Regions from separate parts of the Homo sapiens genome. Here region 1 is linked to region 2. Evidence: promoter capture Hi-C in 16 types of primary human blood cells and fetal thymus (Javierre and others, 2016). All regions are on one chromosome and are shown on one strand. The core of a region is centred on a gene start or on the middle of the fragment in contact, and the rest is flanking DNA. Distances in the headings are between cores, read along the strand shown.

Evidence for each region. Contacts are between HindIII fragments. The CHiCAGO score rates a contact against its expected background, and 5 or more counts as called.
Region 1: a fragment that was not itself captured here is called in contact with the fragment with the promoter of IPO7 in region 2 in 2 of 17 cell types (activated CD4 T cells and M2 macrophages); the score reaches 5.5 in activated CD4 T cells.

Annotation. Positions count from the first base shown.
Region 1 is chr11:9,271,454-9,277,563 of GRCh38, forward strand. It overlaps TRL-CAA5-1 (tRNA-Leu (CAA) 5-1), which reads left to right and starts at 3,790; the gene lies at 3,790-3,863. RefSeq lists a silencer at 2,256-2,456. The HindIII fragment of the contact is 193 bases long and covers 2,055-2,247 here.
Region 2 is chr11:9,379,900-9,386,471 of GRCh38, forward strand. It overlaps IPO7 (importin 7), which reads left to right and starts at 4,753. Exons shown (of 25, transcript NM_006391.3): 1 at 4,753-4,948. The coding sequence starts at 4,865. RefSeq lists an enhancer at 4,755-5,270. The HindIII fragment of the contact is 13,114 bases long and covers 1,385-6,572 here.

The DNA of each region.
Region 1 (6,110 bases), core at 901-3,400, 110 kb before region 2:
AAGACTCCGTCTTGCAGGAAAAACAAAACAAAACAAAACAAAAAAACTGAAAACAATCCAAATGCCTAGCTATAGAAGACAGATTAAAGAAACTATAGTTTCTGCCAACGCTGGAATACTATGCAGCTATAAAACAAAACAAGAGCAAGAAAAAAATAAGGAAAAACTGTGTAATATGTTATCAAATGTATAAAAAAGAGAAAATAAAAGAATTTTTTTTTGTATATGCATAGTCTATTTTTGGAAGCATAAACAAAACATTGTTAAAATTGATTGCTTCAGGTGTGGTGGCTCACGCCTGTAATCCCAGCATTTTGGGAGGCCAAGGAGGGCAGATCACTTGAGACCAGCCTGGCCGACATGGTGAAACCACGTCTCTACTAAAAATACAAAAAGTAGCCAGGCATGGTGGCGGGCACCTGTAATTCCAGCTACTCAGGAAGCTGAGGCAGGAGAATCGCTTGAACCCAGGAGGCGGAGGTTGCAGTGAGCCGAGATTGCACCATTGCACTCCAGCCTGGGTGACAGCAAGACTCTGTCTCAAAATAAAAAATAAAATAAAATAAAAATCTGAAAAAAAAATTGATTGCTTCTAGGGAAGGAAACTGAATGGCTGGGATCAGGAATAGAATGGAAATGTTTCACTGTACATTGTTTCATACTTTTTGAGGTTTGAACCACAAGAATGTATTACCTATTTGCATTAATCAGGGTTCTCCAGAGAAACAGAACCAACAGGATATATATAGATATAGAGAAAGAGATTTATTTTGAGAAACTGGCTCATATGATTACGAAGACTGAGAAAGAAGTTCCACGATCTGCTATCTGTAAGCTGGAGGTTCAGGAAAGCCAGTGGTGTAATTCAATCTGAGTCTGGAGGCCCAAGAATCAGATATCCAAGGGCAGGAGATGAAGAATGTCCCAGCTCAAGAGAGAGCAGGCCAGGCATGGTGGCTCATGCCTGTAATCCCAGCACTTTGGGAGGCTGAGGGGGGTGGATCACTTGAAGTCAGGATTTCCAGACCAGCATGGCCAACATGGTGAAACCCCATCTCTACTAAAAATACAAAAATTAGCCAGGAGTGGTGGCATGCACCCGTAATTCCAGCTACTTGGGAGGTTGAGGCATGAGAATTGCTTGAACCTGGGAGGTGGAGGTTGCAGTGAGCCCAGATCGCACCACTGCACTCCAGCCTGGATGACTGAGACTCTGTCTCAAAAAAAAAAAAAAAAAAAAAAAAAAAAAAAAAAAAGAAGAGAGAGAGAACAAATTCTCCCTTCCTCTGCCTTTTTGATGAATTCAGGACCTCAGTGGACTAGATGATGCCCACCCACATTGGTGAGGGTGATCTCGGTCTACCAATTCAGATGCTAACCTCTTCTGGAAATGCTTTACAGACACACCCAGAAATAATGTTTTACTAGCTACCTGGGCATCCATTAGCCCAGTCATGTTGACACATAAAATTAACCATCACACTATTAAAAAATATGTAATAGTCCAGGTGCGGTGGCTCATGCCTGTAATTCCAGCACTTTGGGTGGCTGAGGTGGGCGGATCACCTGAGGTCAGGAGTTCGAGACCAGCCTGACCAACAAGGTGAAACTCCGTCTCTACTAAAAATACAAAAATTAGCAGGGTATGGTGGCGTGTGCCTGTAGTCCCAGCTACTCGGGAGGCTGAGGCACGAGAATTGCTTGAACCCAGGAGGCTGAGGTTGCAGTGAGCTGAGATTGAGCCATTGCACTCCAGCCTGGGCGACAGAGCAAGACTCCACCTGAAAACAAAAAACAAAAACAACTAAGAAATACCTTTTACTGTGAATGTAAGCAATGCCTTGTGAATTCTTCTAGAGATAGCCTATACCTATGCTAGCATGGGTCAGCTCAACTCCACCCAGGCATAACCTATCTACTTTCCAGCTCAGTATAGCATTCAAGAACACATCAGCTGATGAACTCGTGGGTGCTCAAACGCTTTCTCTCCAACACTCAATGGGAGTTCACCATGTACAATCGAAAAAATTCCACGTATAGTGTAGAAAAACGTAAGCTTCACAAATATGGGCTTTCTTAAGACTAGAAACACCAATACATCTAGGGAAGTAGTGATGCACTCAGCTACCTCTGACACATCTTTACAAAAGAAGTCACATATGCCTCACTTCCCCATACCCTGTGTCCCACTAGCCTCCAACACCTTGCCCGGAACCAGCATCAGGATCCTCATGTCTCTCAAACACAAGCTTACTAAATCAGTTGAAAATTAGACATTACCCTTCATCTATCATAACCCACAGCAACAAAGAAGCCACAAAGAATAGTCAGCCTCAGGATAACTCTGATACCCCATGGTGAGGAAGTATGAAGTTGAAGCAACAGGAGGAGCAAATGACTGATGACTTCCCCAAGTGATGCAAGATGCAACTTTCCCAGATGTGTGAGCTTGTGTATTTCTGTTTGAGCTTTTTTTTTTTTTTTGAGATGTAGTCTCTCTTTGTCGCCCAGGCTGAATTGCAGTGGCGCTATCTCGGCTCACTGCAACCTTCGCCTCCTGGGTTCAAGCGGTTCTCTTACCTCAGCCTCCAGAGTAGCTAGGATTACAGGCGTGTGCCACCACACCCGGGTAATTTTTGTATTTTATTAGAGACAAGGGTCTCACTCTGTTGCCCAAGCTGGTCTGGAACTCCTTCGCTCAGGCAATCCACCTACTCGGCCTCCCAAACTGCTGGGATTACAGGCATGAGCCACCACACCCAGCCTGTTTGAGCTTATTTCTATGTGAGTAAGCATTTGTGCATAGTGGTAATCATGTATGTATATTATGTGCTTACATATATTAGATGTATGTGTGTTTGCATGTGTAAATAATTGTATGTGTGTACTTTATATGAGTGTGTGGGCCATGCGTGGTGGCTCATGCCTGTAATTCCAGCACTTGGGGAGGCCGAGGCAGGTGGATCGCCAGAGGTTAGGAGTTCGAGACCAGTCTGGGCAACATGGTGAAACCCCGTCTCTACTAAAAATACCAAAATTAGCCGGGTGTGGTGGCATGTGCCTGTAGTTCCAGCTACTCGGGAGGCTGAGGCAGGAGAATCGCTCAAACCCGGGATGCGGAGGTTGCAGTGAGCCAAGATCATGCCACTACGCTCCAGCCTGGGAGACAAGAGCAAAAGTCCGTCAAAAAAAAAAAAAGAAAGAAAGAAAGGAAGGAAAGAGAGGAAGGAAGGAAGGAGAAAGAAAGGAAAGAGAGAGAGAAAGAAAGGGAGAAAGAGAGAAAGAAAGTGAGAGAGAAAGAAAGAGAGAGAAGAGTGTGTGTGTGGAGGCTGAGACAGGGTAGGGTAGCTGGACCAAGGAAGCAAAAGAGTCCCTTTGGCTCTCCTACAAGCCCAGGAGTGACTCCAGTGCTCCCTTCAGCCTCTTCCCCCTTCTCCCTGGGTCCCCCTAGGTTGAGAGTATTTTGAGAGTATGGGTGGATGACTTTATCTGTGCTGCACCCACCCTTCTCCCTTACACTGTGAACACAGTGGCCTCCTTATTCCCATCAGTTTGAGAGCCAAGAGCTTCCTAGGAAAGGCTGGATGATATAATGAAGGGAAGTGAACGGCACTTGGACCAGATCCCAAAAGGAAGATATATTTAGCCATCTAAATAGCTGAGCTGAGCTCTTAAAAGCTTTGGGGAATAAAATAATTGTTCTATATTTTGATTGCATGGTGATTACACGATTATGTTTTCCAAAACCTATAGAACTGTATATTATAGGAAGCAAAGCATCTTTTAGCTGCCTCCTTAGTGCAGTAGGTAGCGCATCAGTCTCAAAATCTGAATGGTCCTGAGTTCAAGCCTCAGAGGGGGCAAGGTCACCTTATTAAGCTGGCGAAGGAACGCAAGCTTGCCTGTGTTATATTTTTGAGACAGAGTCATTTATTTATTTAATTAATTAATTTATTTATTTACTTATTTAGACAGTTTCTCTCTTGTCGCCCAGTCTGGAGTGCAATGGTATGATCTCGGCTCACTGTAACCTCCGCCTCCCAGCTTCAAGTAACTCTTGTGCCTCAGCCTACTGGGTAGCTGGGATTACAGGCGCCCGCCACCACGCCCAGCTAATTTTTTTTTTTTTGAGATGGAGTCTCGCTCTGTCACCCAGGCTGGAGTGCAGTGGCATGATCTTGGTTCACTGTAACCTCCGTCTCCTGGGTTCAAGCGATTACCCTGCCTCAGCCTCCTGAATAACTGGGATTACAGGTGCTCGCCACCACGACCAGCTAATTTTTGTATTTTTAGTAGAGACGGGGGTTTCACCATGTTGGTCAGGCTGGTCTCGAACTCCTGACCTTGTTATCCACCCACCTAGGCCTCCCAAAGTGCTGGGATTACAGGAGTGAGCCACCATGCCCGGCCTTTTTTTTTTTTTTTTTTTTTTTTTTTTGAGAGGGAATCTTGCTCTGTCGCCCAGGCTGGAGTGCAGTGGCGGGATCTTCGCTCACTACAACCTTTGCTTCCGGGGTTTGAGCAATTCTCCTGTCTCGGCCTCCCGAGTAGCTGGGATTACATGTGCATGCCACCACACCCAGCTAATTTTTGTATTTTTAGTAGACACAGGGTTTTGCCATGTTGGCCAGGCTGGTCTCAAACTCCTGACCTCAGGTGATCCACCCACCTTGGCCTCCCAAGGTGCTGGGATTACACACATGAGCCACCACGCCTGGCCTAATTTTTAAATTTTTAGTGGAGACGGGGTTTTGCTATGTTGGTCAGGCTGGTCTGTAACTTTGGGCCTCTAGCAATCTGCTTGCCTTGACCTCCCAAAGCGCTGGAATTACAGGTGTGAGCCACTGCTCCTGGTCCCAGATCTTGTAATTAATACAGATATGTGGACCATAAAAGGTAATATAATTCCCGTGAAATGTAAAATACATAGATTTTTTTTTTGGTAAGCCTATACAAACTTCACCTAGAAAAAACACCACTCCCATGTAGTAGGTTTTGACAAACGTTGGAACTGCCAAAAGCCCCCACCAAAACAACCTACCTGGGCTGCCATGGGCAAGACAATAAAGTGAGAAGCAACTCAACTGACCACCTTTGAGGCTGGGACCCTGGGGTGATATAGCTGGGCCACTCCTTGGCCTGCTGGCTCAACTCCTGCCTGCCACCCTCAAGGTTTGCTAAACTCAAGTTGTGAGTTATCAGCATATGTAACCTGGCCCCAGGGGCCCTGCAGCTGACAGGCAGAGCTGCTGCTCATATTTGTGTACATGGTACCATGAGACACCATCATTGTACTCATTATTAATTTATATGGTTGACGACAGTTTTCCAACAGATGGCAGTAAAATATCTTAAGAAAGAGGCACCTGGCCAGGCGCAGTGGTGCGTGCCTGTAGTCCCAGCACTTTGGAAGGCCTAGCTGTGAGGATTGCTTCAGCCCAGAATTTCAAGACCAGCCTTGGCAATGCAGTGAGACCCAGCACCCCCACTGCCATCTCTACAAAGAAAAAAGAAAGGGGCATCTTCTTTTTCTTTTCTTGAGATGGAGTCTCGTTCTGTCTCCCAGGCCAGAGTACAGTGGTGCGATCTTGGCTCACTGCAACCTCGGCCTGTCGGGCTCAAGCGATTCTCTCACCTCAGCCTCCCAAGTAGCTGGGATTACAGGAGCGCTCCACCATACCCTGGTATTATTATTATTATTATTTGTATTTTTAGTAGAAATGGAGTTTCACCATGTTGCCCAGGGTGGTTTTGAACTCCTGAGCTCAGGCAATCCGCCTTGGCCTCCCAAAGTGCTGAGATTGCAGGCATGAGCCACCGTGCCCAGCGACATCCTTTTCTACTTCATCCAAAACCACCATATGAGCTAACAGTAGGGCTATGTTGCCCAGCGTGCTGCTAACAAATAGCAGAACACAAGACTCTCAGAACCAGAAAGTCAACATTCATTGTGCTGTCTCACCACATGGCTTCCTCCTGTGCCTCTACTTCATTCTTTTCTTGTCTTCCATCCTCATTTATCAAATCCAACATTTCTCTACTAAACAGAAAAGCTACTGGGCGCCGTGGCTCATGCCTGTAATGCCAGAACTTTGGGAGGCCGAGGCGGG
Region 2 (6,572 bases), core at 3,503-6,002:
CTCCCAGGCTGGCGTGCAGTGGTGCGATCTCAGGTCACTGCAACCTCCGCCTACCAGGTTCAAAAGATTCTCCCACCTCAGCCTCCCAAGTAGCTGGGATTACAGGCACGCACCACCACACTGTGGTAATTTTTTTATTTTTACTAGAAATGGAGTTTCACCATGTTGGCCAGGCTGGTCTTGAACTCCTGACCTCAGGTGATCCACCTGCCTTGGCCTCCCAAAGTGCTGGGATTAAAGGTGTGAGCCACTGAGTCAGGCCCAGCTCTTCTTCTTCTTCTTCTTCTTTTTTTTTTTTTTTTTTTTTTTTGAGACGGATCTCACTCTGTCGCCAGGATGGAGTGCAGTGGTGTGATCTCGGCTCACTGCAACCAACCTCCACCTCCTGGGTTCAAGCAATTCTTCTGCTTCATCCTCTTGAGTAGCTGGGACTACAGGTGCACGCCACCATGTCTAGCTGAGTTTTGTATTTTTAGTAGAGATGGGGTTTCACCATGTTGGCAAGGGTGGTCTCTAACTCTCCAACCTCGTGATCTGCCAGCCTCGGCCTCCCAAAGTGCTGAGATTACAGGCATGAGGAGCCACTGTGCCCGGCCGCATCTCTTCTTAATTTTTGTCTAATTTCATCCTACCTCAAAATCAACTCTGAGACTATGGTTTATGCTTTTCTGAATTCTCAGCCTTCACCTTGCCTAAGGAGGCTTAGATACCTGTGTTGGCTGCTGTGCTGGGGATTGGGATTGTGGGACACCATAAGGTTATGTAATTGTGTTTACAGTGGCTTAACAAACCACTTTTTTCATTAGTCTTCTCATACTTATTTATTGAGCACTCATTCATTTCTGTGTCTACCACAAAAAAGATGGATGTGGTCTCTGCCCTAGAGGAGTTCACACTGAAATTTCCAGTCACGTAAGTCACATTCTCTGTGTCACTAGCTTGACAAAATAAAACTAAAATCTACAAATAGGTTGAGTGTGCTAATCACTCTACCAACTAGCTCCTGAATGCTCCCTGGGGCCAAGCTCCTTTTTTGGATACAGGAATGCTGGCTCCCCAGACAGGATCTTGTACCCAGTGTGCTCTGTTCTCTATGAAGGATGAGACACAGGCCCCATGCCAGCTGTAGATCTGCAAGCCTCGTTGGCTCCCTGTTCCCAGCACTACAGCTTAAAACCATATTTTTCACTACCACTTCTTTTCCCTTTCAGTTTTAGGGAGAGGAAACTAACATTTTTGGACTACCTTCTATGTGCCAGGTTCTTTCATATACATTGTGCTCTGCTAAAATCTTCACAATTCCGTGATAAACAAGTCAATTCTGGAATCTAAAATAGGCATATAATATCAGAAAGAGGACTAGCTTTTGAATCATGAAGAATGAAGCTTCAATTCTGGCTCAGCCACCTATAAGTCATTACTAGTTTATTAATTCCTTTCTTCATTTATTCACTTAAAGAATTTTTTAAACTCCTCCTTTACATTCTAACTCTGTGGTAGGAGGTGAGGATACAAAGGTCAATAGAACATAAGCCTGTTTTCAAGGCCTTCACTTTGAGCAGTGGAGCAGGGAGAGGAAAATTCTTTTTATTTCTGAGACGGCGTTTCACTCTTGTTGCCCAGGCTGGAGTGCAATGGCACGATCTCAGCTCACTGCAACCTCCGCCTTCCGGGTTCAAACAATTCAGGGAGAGGAAAATTCTTAAACAGATTGTATTTGTAACACTATTACACTTTTTACAGGTTATTATTATGAAAACTTTCTGACTCCTCACAATTTAAGTAGCCTGAGCCTCGGGTTCTTCATTTGTAAATTTTTTTTTTTTGAGACGGAGTCTTGCTCTGTTGCCCAGGCTGGAGTGCACTGGTGCGATCTCAGCTCACTGCAACCTCTGCCTCCCTGGTCCAGGTGATTCTCCTGCCTCAGCCTCCTGAGTATCTGGGATTACAGGTGAGCACCACCATGCCTGGCTAATTTTTTTTTTTTTTTTGAGACAGAGTCTTGCTCAGTCGCCCAGGCTGGAATGCAGTGGCCCGATCTCGACTCACTGCAAGCTCCACTCCCCGGGTTACGCCATTCTCCTGCCTCAGCCTCCCGAGTAGCTGGGACTACAGGCACCGGCCACCACGCCCGGCTAATTTTTTTGTATTTTTATTTTTATTTATTTATTTATTTTATTTTTTATTTTTTATTTTTTTTGAGACGGAGTCTGGCTCTGTCCGCCAGGCTGGAGTGCAGTGGCGCGATCTTGGCTCACTGCAAGCTCCGCCTCTCGGGTTCGCGCCATTCTCCTGCCTCAGCCTCCCGAGCAGCTGGGACTACAGGCGCCCGCTACCGCGCTCGGCTAATTTTTTGTATTTTCAGTAGAGACAAGGTTTCACCATGTTAGTCAGGATGGTTTCGATCTCCTGACCTTGTGATCCGCCCGCCTCGGCCTCCCAAAGTGCTGGGATTACAGGCGTGAGCCACCGCGCCCGGTCTTTTTTGTATTTTTAGTAGAGAGAGGGTTTCACTGTGTTAGCCAGGATGATCTCGATCTCCTGACCTCGTAATCCGCCCGCCTTGGCCTCCCAAAGTGCTGGGATTACAGGCGTGAGCCACCGGGCCAGGCAATTTTTGTATTTTTAGTAGAGATGGGGTTTTGCCATGTTGGCCAGGCTGGTCTCGAACTCTTGACCTCAGGTGATCCCGCCCACCTCAGCCTCTCAAATTGCTGTGGTTACGGTTGTGAGCCACCATGCCCGGCCTAAATTAGGAATAATTCTGTCTTACTTCCAGTACTTCCAGGCACAGTGGCTGGCATATACAAGGTAGTAACATTGCAAAACCCACCGCTTCAGGGAAAGGCTTTCGTGAGCCTTTCCTTCTCTTTTTTTTGTAAATTAAAAACAATAAGTGATCATTTAACACATTGTATTTGAAGGCTTATAATTAATTTTAAGTATATCTGTTTATATAACTTTGTTACAATAATAACAGATATGAAAGGAAATTACTCCAAATCTCACCATCCTGTTAATAGAAAATAAATTATTTTCATTTGCTAACCTTGCTTTTCAGTCTTTGTCCATGTTACAAAGCTATATCCTTCCATAAATACTTTTTTGTTATATTTTTTAATGGCTGTGAAATATTTAATTTACTGGATTCTTGCTATTTGCTTAACCAGTCCTATATTGTTCAACATTTCTCTTCAGAGGCAGAGTGATTTAGTGGAAACAATGGAAAGTTTGAAAACAAAGATCTTAGGTTTGAAATCTTAGTTGAACCTCTTACTACGTGACCTTGGGTAAGTTATTTAACCTTTCTAAAACAAACTTTTTCTTGGCTGTTATAAAAGAGGACTTTTTCTTTCTTTCTTTCTCCCCCACCTCCCTCTTTTTTTAGAGATGGGGTCTCGCTATGTAGCCCAGGCTGTAGCGTAGTGGCTACTCATAGGCACGATCTTAACAGGCTGTCACCTTGAACTTCTGGTCTCAAGCAATCCTCCTGCCTCAACAGGAGGATTACGCCTGGCTAGGAAGGTGTCTTTTATTTTTATTTATTTATTTATTTATTTTTGAGATAGAGTCTCGCTCTGTCACCCAGGCTGGAGTGCAGTGGCATGATCTCGGCTCACTGCAAGCTCCACCTCCTGGATTCACGCCATTCTCCTGCCTCAGTGTAGCTGGGACTACAGGCGCCCACCACCACACCCGGCTAATTTTTTGTATTTTTAGTAGAGACGGGGCTTCACCGTGTTAGCTAGGATGGTCTCAATCTCCTGACCTTGTGATCCGCCCACCTTGGCCTCCCAAAGTGCTGGGATTACAGGTGTGAGCCACCGCGCCTGGCAGGAAGGTGTATTTTAATAGGGATTATGCTTTTACTCTGCATTAAGAGGTGATTTATATGAAGTCCCAACTAAAATTTGGATACTCAATAAAAAGCCATGATTTCAGTATTTGGTAATTACTAATACGTAATGTGATAAAAACCTTTCACACATAAAGTTCATTTAATCTTCCGTGTTATTGCCTTAGGATAAAGTCTCATAAGTGGAATTACTGGGTCAGAGTTTAAACATTTCGTTTCGTTTTGTTTTTTTGAGACGGAGTTTCGCTCTTGTTGCCCAAGCTGGAGTGCAATGGCACGATCTCGGCTCACTGCAACCTCCGCTTCCCGGGTTCAAGCGATTCTCCTGCCTCAGCCTCCCTAGTAGCTGAGACTACAGGCGCGTGCCACCACGCCCGGCTAATTTTTTGTATTTTTAGTAGAAACGGGGTTTCGCCGTGTTAGCCAGGATGCTCTCGATCTCCTGATCTCGTGATCCGCCCGCCTTGGCCTCCCAAAGTGCTGGGATTACAGGCGTGAACCACCGCGCCCGGCAGTTTAAATATTTTAGTGGCTATCAGAAACACATCTCAAATTGCTTTTCAGAAAGTTTCCTTCAATCACGCAGCCATTAGCAATCGATTGCACCACACACTGTATCTGACTCCCTTTATGAACATTGTGGATATAGTATGTGAAACCTTTTGTAACTGATTGTTTTGCTTTTCTTTTTGTGGAACTTGAACATTTTTCGTTTTTGAACAGAAAGACTTGTCTGTAGGAACGACAGCTCAGGCAGCCACGTGGGCTGCGGACTGTGTTTGTGGACTACATCTCCCAAAGTGCTCCGCAGGCGCGCCCACAGGAAGTCGCCGGAGCATCTCCCGCCTCCACGCCGAGGCGAAGAGGTTCTATCCGGGGCCTTGGCGCTTCTCTTTCCTTTCGCGCCGGTTGCCGCTGCGGAGCGCGGCGGGTCCATGTGCGCAGTGAGTGGCGCTATTCCTGGCCCAGTAGCACCCGAGCCCCGGGTTTGACCGAGTCCGCGCTGCGATGGACCCCAACACCATTATCGAGGCCCTGCGGGGCACTATGGACCCAGCCCTGCGTGAGGCCGCGGAGCGCCAGCTCAATGAAGTAAGGACGCCCGGCTAGCGGTGGCGGCGGGCAGGCGGGTGGGCAGAAGTGGCAGGCCGAGCCCCCGGGGCCTGGCCGGAGGCGCGGACGACGTCGTTGAGGGTCCCAGCAGGAGGGTGGGGCGGACATCTGACGGCGACTTCCACGCCGGGGCGCCTCGGTGTGGTGTGGTGGTGGTGGCTGCAGCCAAGGCTGCCTTTGCTTCGGATCCTGAGCTGGGCCTCTGGCTGCGGTCTAGGCATGAGGAGCCGGCTGAGGCGGGGCGGGCGTGACGGGTTGGACACATGGCTGGCTCGGGTGGCTGGCCGACCTCTGGCTCATTCCCAGCTGGTTCCTCACGTCCAGGAGGGGGCGAAACTTACTGGGAGGTTTTTCAGATGTTTCTGAGACCAGTCTCGCCGTCGCAGGGTTTGGAAGGGCTCCTGGGAATGCCGGCTGGTCCTTTGGGGGCTGCGCCTGTCATCCTTGTCACTTTGCTGGGCTGATCAGTGGCCTGCCTCGGGCACAACTTCCTCCTCTCTGGCTGAGTTGCTAGGGAAGGCTTTCAAAGGCAAGCCCGCGCCTCCTTGGCAGGATAGGAGTAGTGCGGGACACTCACAGAGTCTGATCCCTGCTTTTCCGCTGTCCTAATGCTTCAGTCGGGGAGCTGGCTTATGTAGTGGGAAGGATCAGGTGAAGTGCACCCTTCTAGGTATAGCTGCACCATTGATTCCTTGAGTGACCTTGGGCCAGTCGCTTAACCTCTTGATCCTGAGTTTTTCCCATTCATAAAATTACGCCACAGAGTTGCTGTGACAGACAGGTGAGATAATGTTAAGTCTGAGTGCCTTGGAACATGCTGAGCTCCTTATCAGTTCAGATATTGCATTCTCTGAAGGTTTTTTTTTTCCCCCATATTTTGTGGGGACCGCTCCTTGGAAAACAGCTTAATTGCATGAATATTTATTGTACTATCTCCAGTGTCATTCTTTGTTTCTAAACTTTTGCATTTTTACGTATTAATGATCAGTATTTTAAATCCTTCTTAAAAGGGCTGCTGTAACTTTTCTGCCAGTTAGTAACTGTCCTTCAGCATGCTGCTGAATCTGCCAGCTTTACTGAACTTTAGTGTACATTTTTTAACTGAAAAAGAAATCACACTTTAAAATAGAAATTCAACTATTTTATGCGTCTTTTAGCTGGTAAGTAAATAATTTAAAAACATTGTTTATATTGACTTACCAGAAACAGCAGAAATATTACTAACTGGACTTTCAGTGTAAAGGGCTGCACTAGAGATCCCTGCCCTCACGGAACTTACAGTTCAAGAAGACTACCTACAGAGTTTACACAAATTAAATGTAAAATTATTTCAGAATGTTAAATCTATTTTATATGTAAATGAGATCATTATTATACCACACAAAGTGATGATTACATGTTCAAATTTTTAGACTCAGAGTCACCTTGGGAGGAGCTTAGATTTTTTTGGATATAAAATAGTGAGTTGAACCGTATTACCATTTTGAACCATTACCAAACTATGGAAGGAGCAATGGATCACTTTTTGTTTTGATTTGCTTAGTGATAGACATGGGTTAAGTTGAAAATTATTTTGCTTATTAAATAGTAATGCAGTTACAAG